Linked DNA regions of Homo sapiens: region 1 is linked to region 2. The links are contacts of gene promoters, found by promoter capture Hi-C in blood cells and fetal thymus (Javierre and others, 2016). All regions are on one chromosome and are shown on one strand. The core of a region is centred on a gene start or on the middle of the fragment in contact, and the rest is flanking DNA. Distances in the headings are between cores, read along the strand shown.

Region 1 (3,540 bases), core at 98-2,597, 2.7 Mb after region 2:
GAAAGGCAATCTGTAAGAGAAAATGATTACTTTGCCTAGGATACAAGATTCTCCATCTCCCTGACTAGTTTCATCTCTCGTTAGCTTCTTGTTCCAATTTTATGCAATATTGAATCATGTGTACCATGCAGTTTTATGCAACATTGAATTATGTGTACCATGAAAAACAATCCATAGCCTTTCACGCCCCGTCCTTACTCATATTGTCCTCTCTTCCTGAAAATTCCTCCTTTTACACTCCTGCATCACAGCCAAATGTTGTCCATCCTTTGAATCTTAAGCAGGTTGACTGACTCCTTCAAACACTCCTACTCCCTATTAGACTTCGGATACTCATTCTATATATTAGACTTTGGATGCTCATTCTATAGTTTCATAGTTTACTTTGTATTTTCTCTATCCCCAGCATCTACCACAGTGTCTATGAAATAGTTGGCATTTCATGAACATTTGTTGAATGAATAATGGATAACATATATTGAGCTCCTTCTAGGAGGTATGCATTGTAGGTGTTTTATGTACTTTTCATCTGTCCTCACAACTGCATTTAAGTACCTGCTTTTCCAAAGGGAAGTTATAACTCTGACTGCTCATTCTTAGTAGGGTGTTAGTTTCAGAATACAATCCCCAGACTAGCGGATGTGTAACCCTGTTATCATCTCTTGCTTCTCCATTTACAGTAGCATGCAGAGGTGCAGTGGGGTGGGGGAGGTCAGGGAATATTTCATAGCAGAAGTGACATTTAAGTAAAGACCAAAATAATGTGTAGAGTTGTCCAGGTTAGGAAGGGTTTCCAGGTAGAAGAAGGTGGCGTATAGTGTTCACTACAAGAAAGTTTGGTATAATACAAGAACTGGAAGAAAAAAAAAAAAAGTTCAAGTTGGCTAACTAAAAGGTAGAGAATGAGACTAGGGGCTTTTGGAGGAGACAAAACAAGAGAGTTAAACAAGCTATGAAGAGACCCAGACAGTATTGGTCAGTGGAATACCACTATAGAATTTTATGGAGTGAAATTTTCAAATTTTAATATCATAAAGATAACTCTGGCTGCAGGGTGGAGAACAGACAGGAAGGAAGCAAATCTAGATCTGGGAATACCATTTAAGATGCCGTTGCTGTAAGCCATGTAAGAGACAAAGGTGGCATGGTCAAGGCTAAGAAAAATCAGAATGGAGAGAAATGGACCAATTTGAGAAATTTTTAGGAGGTAAAAATGTCAGGACTTAGTGATTGATTGGATGGAAGAGTGAATGATAAGAAATAATAAAAAACGATGACCAGCTGTTTTGCCTTCCCCTTGGCAAGTAAAGAGGTGGCAAGCATGAAAGGGGAGTGAGGAAATAAATATGTTGGGTCTAATGGGAGCCAGGTTTCTCACTGACAGAGAAGGACGTTACAAATTGAGAGAGGAAGAATTCCACAGTGACCTTTGTGGTGATGTTGAATTGGAATTGAATATGTCAGTGTCAACTCATAGTTTTCAATATATACATAAACATATGTAAAAATAAATATAGAGGAAAGTATGTCTGTATGTGTGTGCGTATCTATCTATTATGCTCTTCCTAGCTCTATCTGCTGAAAGGGTTTCAGAGTAATGGTATACTAGAAGCAATGAGCACATGTGCCTAGATCTTGGTTTCTGAACAGTATTATTCACTAAAAGTAACTGGGTCCCTTGGAGAAATGGTTGATTTTAGAACAGGAGCCTGGAAAATTCTTGTTGCACCAGAAGTTAAGGAAGTTAATACAGAATGAAGAAACATATCAAAAGGTCACAGAAGCCAGCTTGAAGGAGCCACCACTGGCCACATCTGGGTCAATCTGAGCACCAATATAATGTTAATGGATTATAGTCCGCTAAATAAAATAGGAATATTTGAGCCCATACTAAAATGAATAAATGATTTTTTTGAAAAATCAGGATAAAGAAAAGCTCTGCCTTACATAAAAATGCCAACTAAATGTAATGAATGTAGACAGTGTTATATGTAGAAACATCATTATTTGGCAGTCATGATAGTAACAGTTGATTCAGACTAGAATCATCAGTGTATGCTAAAACTAGAGGGTGAGAGTATTAAGAGACATATAATATTTATATAGTCTCAAAGTATCTCTCCAGCAAATACTTATTAATTACACAGAGAAAAATTAGAAAACTTGACAGTGTAGAAATCTGGCACTGGTGAGCGAAGTTACCATCAGCAGTCATGAGACAAATCAGCATCGTGTATGTCCTGGTTAGAGGCACTTAGAATACACTTCTGTGACATTCCTGCCAAAAATGTGTAATCCGAATCAATCGTGAGGAAAAAATCAGACAACCCAAATGTCCCAAATTGAGGGACATTCTACAAAATAATAGACCTGTACTCTTCAAAGATCAAGGTCATGAAAGACAAAGGAACAACTAAAGAACGTTTTTAGATTGAAGGAGAATTAAGATACATGACAATTAAGTGGAATACATGATTCTGAATTGAATCCTTTTGCTATAAGGATATTATTGGGACAACTAACAATTTGAATGGGGTCTCTGGATTAGATGGTAGTATTTTAACAATATTAATTTCCTGATTTTGATGACTATAGTGACATAGATATTTTTGGTTTTAGAAAATACATATTGAAGTATTAAAGGTGATGAGGCTTCATATCTGCAACCTATTCAAATGGTTCAGGAAAAAAGTATACATAAATACTGTAAATAAATATAAACATAAATAATATACATAAAGAAAATGATAAAGCAAATGTTAACAGGGAATTTGGGCGAAAGCAGAAGTTCTTTATACTATTCTTGCAATTTTTCTGTAAGTTTATAATTATTTTAAAACTATAAAAGAAGTTTGAAAGGTGCCGAGGTTTCTGGCTCAGGTAACTGGGTGGAGAATGGCTAATCAGTTAACGACAAAAAATCAGGAAGAGCAAGCATGGAGGAAAAGATGTTTAGTTGCAATGGGATGTATGGAGTGGGATGTTCAGCAGGCAGTTGAGTATATACTAAACATATTAATGAGCCCCATTCAAACTGAATAAAGCAGATATGTTGCTTTAGCTCTCATTAGTCGAGAGTGCAAGACCAAGGGCACTCCGCTATCCTAGGAGAGGCAAACAATTAAGAGTGGTAGTATGGTAATAATTCTAAAAATTGGCTGAGTATCCATGAAAAAAATTGTGTGTATATATATATATATACACACACATATATGTATAAACATATATACACACATATATGTATAAATATATATCCACATATATGTATATATATACACACATATATGTATATATACACACATATATGTATAAATATATATACACATATATGTGTATGTGTGTGTGTGTGTGTATATATATATGTATGTATATAAATTGAACCGTTTAGGAATAAAATAGATTTAGGGTATTCGACACATTTAATACATAATGAATAGTGAATTTCTTGAATAATATAATGCCTAAATGTGACTGATATGCAAAATATTTAAATCCCTTACAGGATGTGCATTTACCAATCAGAACAGATGTTGGCTTTAC
Region 2 (4,067 bases), core at 954-3,453:
GAGAATCAATTGAACCCGGGAGGCAGAGGTTGCAGTGAGCCAAGATCACAACATTGCACTCCAGCCTGGGCAACAAGAGCGAAACCCTGTCTCGAAAGGAAAAAAAAAAAAAAAAAAAAAAGGAAGGGGGGTCGGGAATCAAAACGTCCTAATTCTAAAATGTGAATAAAACCTCGAGAAAATAGTTACTGTCTTAACACAGACCTATTGCAGTAACATTTGAATCTCAGTTATTCAGTGCACTCCTTTGTTTCAGTTGCAGAAACCAAATAAAGATTAATCAGACTACATGGTAAGAAAAGTAATTCTCAGAAGATCAACTACTTTTAGGTGAATTACCTCCCAAGAAGATGTTCTTTTTGACTGGATTTTTTTTCCTGGTATCAGGCATTCTATAAGAAGTATTCTATTGGCTGGAGTTCTATACACCATCTGTCCTATATGCAGATTTTTACATTTTATATACTATAAAATAAAATAATTCAAAAGGCTTTTAAAAAACAAACAAACAAAAAAACAGAGGTCCTAAGGATTTAAAAATGTCTTACCTCTTTGGGGAAAAACGGTCCAAGTATAGAATAGCACATCATGGAACCTAAGTTCACCGAAGCTGCCGATATCAGTACAAAAACCTGTTCTCTCGAAAGCCACCCGGGGGTCTCTCCTGCACTTCCTGCAGGATCATCACCTTGAATGCAAACATGCAGCAATTAGGCATATAATTGAGACTACTGATTAAAGTACACAAATGTGATTTCTGTGCACATATGTTGCACTCTGAAGATATCATTTGCTAAGCTTAGGGCTATTTTGAATATAGCACATTTGATCAAATGGAACACAATCCTTGTACATTACTGCCGTTTTGAAAACGTACTGCTTTCGGCTGGGCACGGTGGCTCACGCCTGTAATCCCAGAACTTTGGGAGGCCGAGGCAGGCGGATCACGAGGTCAGGAGATCGAGACCATCCTGGCTAACACGGTGAAACCCCGTCTCTACTAAAAATACAAAAAATTAGCCGGGCGTGGTGGCGGGCCCCTGTATCCCAGCTACTCGGGAGGCTGAGGCAGGAGAATGGCGTGAACCCGGGAGGCGGAGCTTGCAGTGAGCCAAGATCGCACCACTGCACTCCAGCCTGGGCTACAGAGAGAGACTCCGTCTCAAAAAAGCAAAACAAAACAAACAAACAAAAACAAAAACAAAAACAAAAAACAAAGATTTCTAAGGCAGTATTGAAGTCAAATGAAGTGTAAGTAGGAGAAAACAAGCTAAATCATTCAGCTGGTGAATTAATATTTACAGCGGTATGCTTCTGGATAGACAAGTCCCACAAATTCATAAATAAATACTTTTTTTTTACCCTAATTACTGGTCTTTTACATCAGTTAATTTAACACTTATTTCCAGGGCTAAATTGTCATTTAAAAACACGAAATCAATTACTGAGTTCCAAATATCCAAGCAAATCCATCAGCCATTTATAAATTAAATTGTTTTTAGGAAAAACTTAAGAGAAATACATTTGCTTTGCTCTATTTGTCAGAGGTTGCCATTGCAGTCCAGAAGGAAAAAAAAAATCAGTGCAACATGAGGAAGTCTTACGAATCTTTGTAAAATGTTTGTAGTAGATGAGAAAGGGAAATGAAAGTTAAAAAGAAAGGCAACAACAATGGGTACTTGAAAGGTAACGTTTTACATTTGCCTAATGGCATACTTATTTGAATGCATTAAACACACAGTACTTAAAAAGCAGAGGTATAGGTTAGAAAGTCATTAGAAACCGTGACACATATCCAATCCTGGAACTTTACCCCGTCCAGAGAGAAAAGAAACGCTGGCCCGAACCCCACGATCAGGCCCCAGCCTTTTCCAATCTCTCGGAAACAGATCAAGCTATAAGCAATTCAATCGTTGCTAAAGAGACACGCCGGAAGCCGCCGCTGGTCTCCGGGCTCCCGGCCACGCAATTCATGGTCACCTCCTGGTGCGCGTGGTCCCTCCAGGTCACCCAGCGCCTCCATCCCCGGTGCGTGGACTCCGGCGCCCCAGCTCCCGGCTTCAAGCCACGTCCTTGGACTCGACCTCCAAGGAGCCACTGGCACTCTGGCGGGCGGCCGCTGCTCAGCTGGAACCTGGCATCCCCGACTCCCTGCAGGCAGCGATCCGCCCGGCCCGGAGCTCCCCAAAGCCTTCCAGGACTCTGGGTCCCCGGGAGGAGGCCGGGGGCGGGGCAGGGGTGGAGCAAGGCTCCTTTTTTTTTTGTTTTGCGCCCCCCCCCCGCCTCATTATCTTAATCCACCACCTCAGCTGCTATATCATGGTGTCCTTTTTCATTCTGTGACAGAGAGTGAAAAAAGATGAGTCTATATTCCATACAGCTGTACCCCCCTCAATCTTAAAATAAGTTCAATTTATTCCTACGAAACGAAAGAAAGGAAGCTTATGTAGACACAGAAAAGGCAGGGAGTACCTCAACTGAAAGACACAAAAGTGAATTAGAAAATTAGGTTATACAGGAACTTTGAAAGAGTGAATTATTTTTCACAGTGGGTAAATGCGGTAGTGTTCGTAATTACTGAAGCCAGACACTATTGAACCGGAAATGAATTAACCTATGTGAAGCACCTGGAGTCGAAAAATATTTGCAAGAATACTAATGAATATCGAGGAAGCATGGCGAAGTGGCTAGGAGTGCGACCTCTGGAGGCAGGTGCCAGGGATTCAAGCCAGGGCACTTGCTGGCAGTGTGTAACTTTGGATGACAAGGTCAGTTTCTCTACCTGTACAACTGAGATTATAATGTTTATCTCGTAGGGCGGCTGTGAGCATTGGCGATAAAGTGTGTTAGTAGTTAGCACATGAACATGATGGCTGCTACCTTACTCTCACACTCACAGTTTTCTTGCATAAAAAATAGGTTTCACTTATTTTCACCGTATTTACTATTTGGGAAGTGTTAAAGCTCGAGGACTGGCTGGACACGGTGGCTCATGCCTGTAATCCCAGCAGTTTGGGAGGCCGAGGTGGGCAGCTCACCTGAGGTCAGGAGTTCTAGACCAGCCCGGCCAACATGGTGAAACCCTGTCTCTACTATAAAAATACAAAAAAATCAGCCAGGCGTGGTGGCAGGCACCTGTAATCCCAGCTACTAGGGAGGCTGAGGCAGGAGAATCGTTTGAACCTGGGAGGCGGAGGTTACAGTGAGCCAAGATCCAAAAGAATTGTGTGAGGGTAGCTTTATCGACTGAGAATCTGCCTCAGATCCACTGTACAAGGTCAGTTCCAGTACACAGTATGGCTGATAGTAAGTTTGTAATTACTGTGCCACCTCATTCCAGCCTGGGTGAAAAAGCGAAACTCTGTCTCAAATAAATAAATAAAGTTTAAGGACTGGGAAATTCTTGTTTTGAAGCCAAAGCAAAACAAAAGACTGAGTTACCACTTTGTGCCAGGCATTATGAATTTAAAGAGGAATGAGCCCCATCCAGACTCTGCCCTCAAGTAGCACACCTTCTAGCAGATGAAATTCACACTAATTAATAATCTACTATAATGCAATCGGTTGTATACAAACATATTGGAAGAACCATTTACTTTGGCAAATGGGTCCTGGATGACTTCCTGAGGAAGTGATGTTACCTTGGTTCTTGAAGGTTATGTAAAAACTCCCCAGTGAGGGCCGGGCGCGGTGGCTCACGCCTGTAATCCCAGCACTTTGGGAGGCCGAGGTGGGCGGGTCACGAGGTCAGAAGTTCGAGACCTGCCTGACCAACACGGTGAAACCCCGTCTCTACAAAAATACAAAAATTAGCTGGGCATGATGGCACCCAGCTACTCAGGAGACTGAGGCAGGAGAATCGCTTGAACCTGGGACTCGGAGGTTGCAGTGAGCAGAGATCATGCCATTGCACTCCAGCCTGGGCAACCGAGCGAGACTCCATCTCAAAAAAAAAAAAAAAAAAATTCCCCAGTGGGCAAGTTGTAAAGGAGAACCTAGAGAACCACTCTGAACAGAAAGTTCCACTCTAAGCCAGGTGCTGTGGCTCACGCCTGTAATCCTAGCAC

What was found. The method cuts DNA at HindIII sites, captures the fragments that hold promoters and counts their contacts. A CHiCAGO score of 5 or more calls a contact.
Region 1: a contact is called between a fragment that was not itself captured here and the fragment with the promoter of SLC18B1 in region 2, in 1 of 17 cell types (total CD4 T cells). The highest score is 10.4, in total CD4 T cells.

The regions. Positions count from the first base shown.
Region 1 is chr6:135,498,946-135,502,485 of GRCh38, forward strand. The region is part of intron 2 of AHI1-DT (AHI1 divergent transcript); the gene reads left to right. Among named protein-coding and RNA genes, the nearest start is that of AHI1-DT, 2.9 kb to the left of the region's middle. The HindIII fragment of the contact is 6,529 bases long and covers 1-3,540 here.
Region 2 is chr6:132,796,434-132,800,500 of GRCh38, forward strand. SLC18B1 (solute carrier family 18 member B1) reads right to left here and starts at 2,204. Exons shown (of 14, transcript NM_052831.3): 1 at 1,981-2,204; 2 at 549-688. The coding sequence starts at 2,023. RefSeq lists an enhancer at 490-990 and a silencer at 2,222-2,271. The HindIII fragment of the contact is 1,643 bases long and covers 797-2,439 here.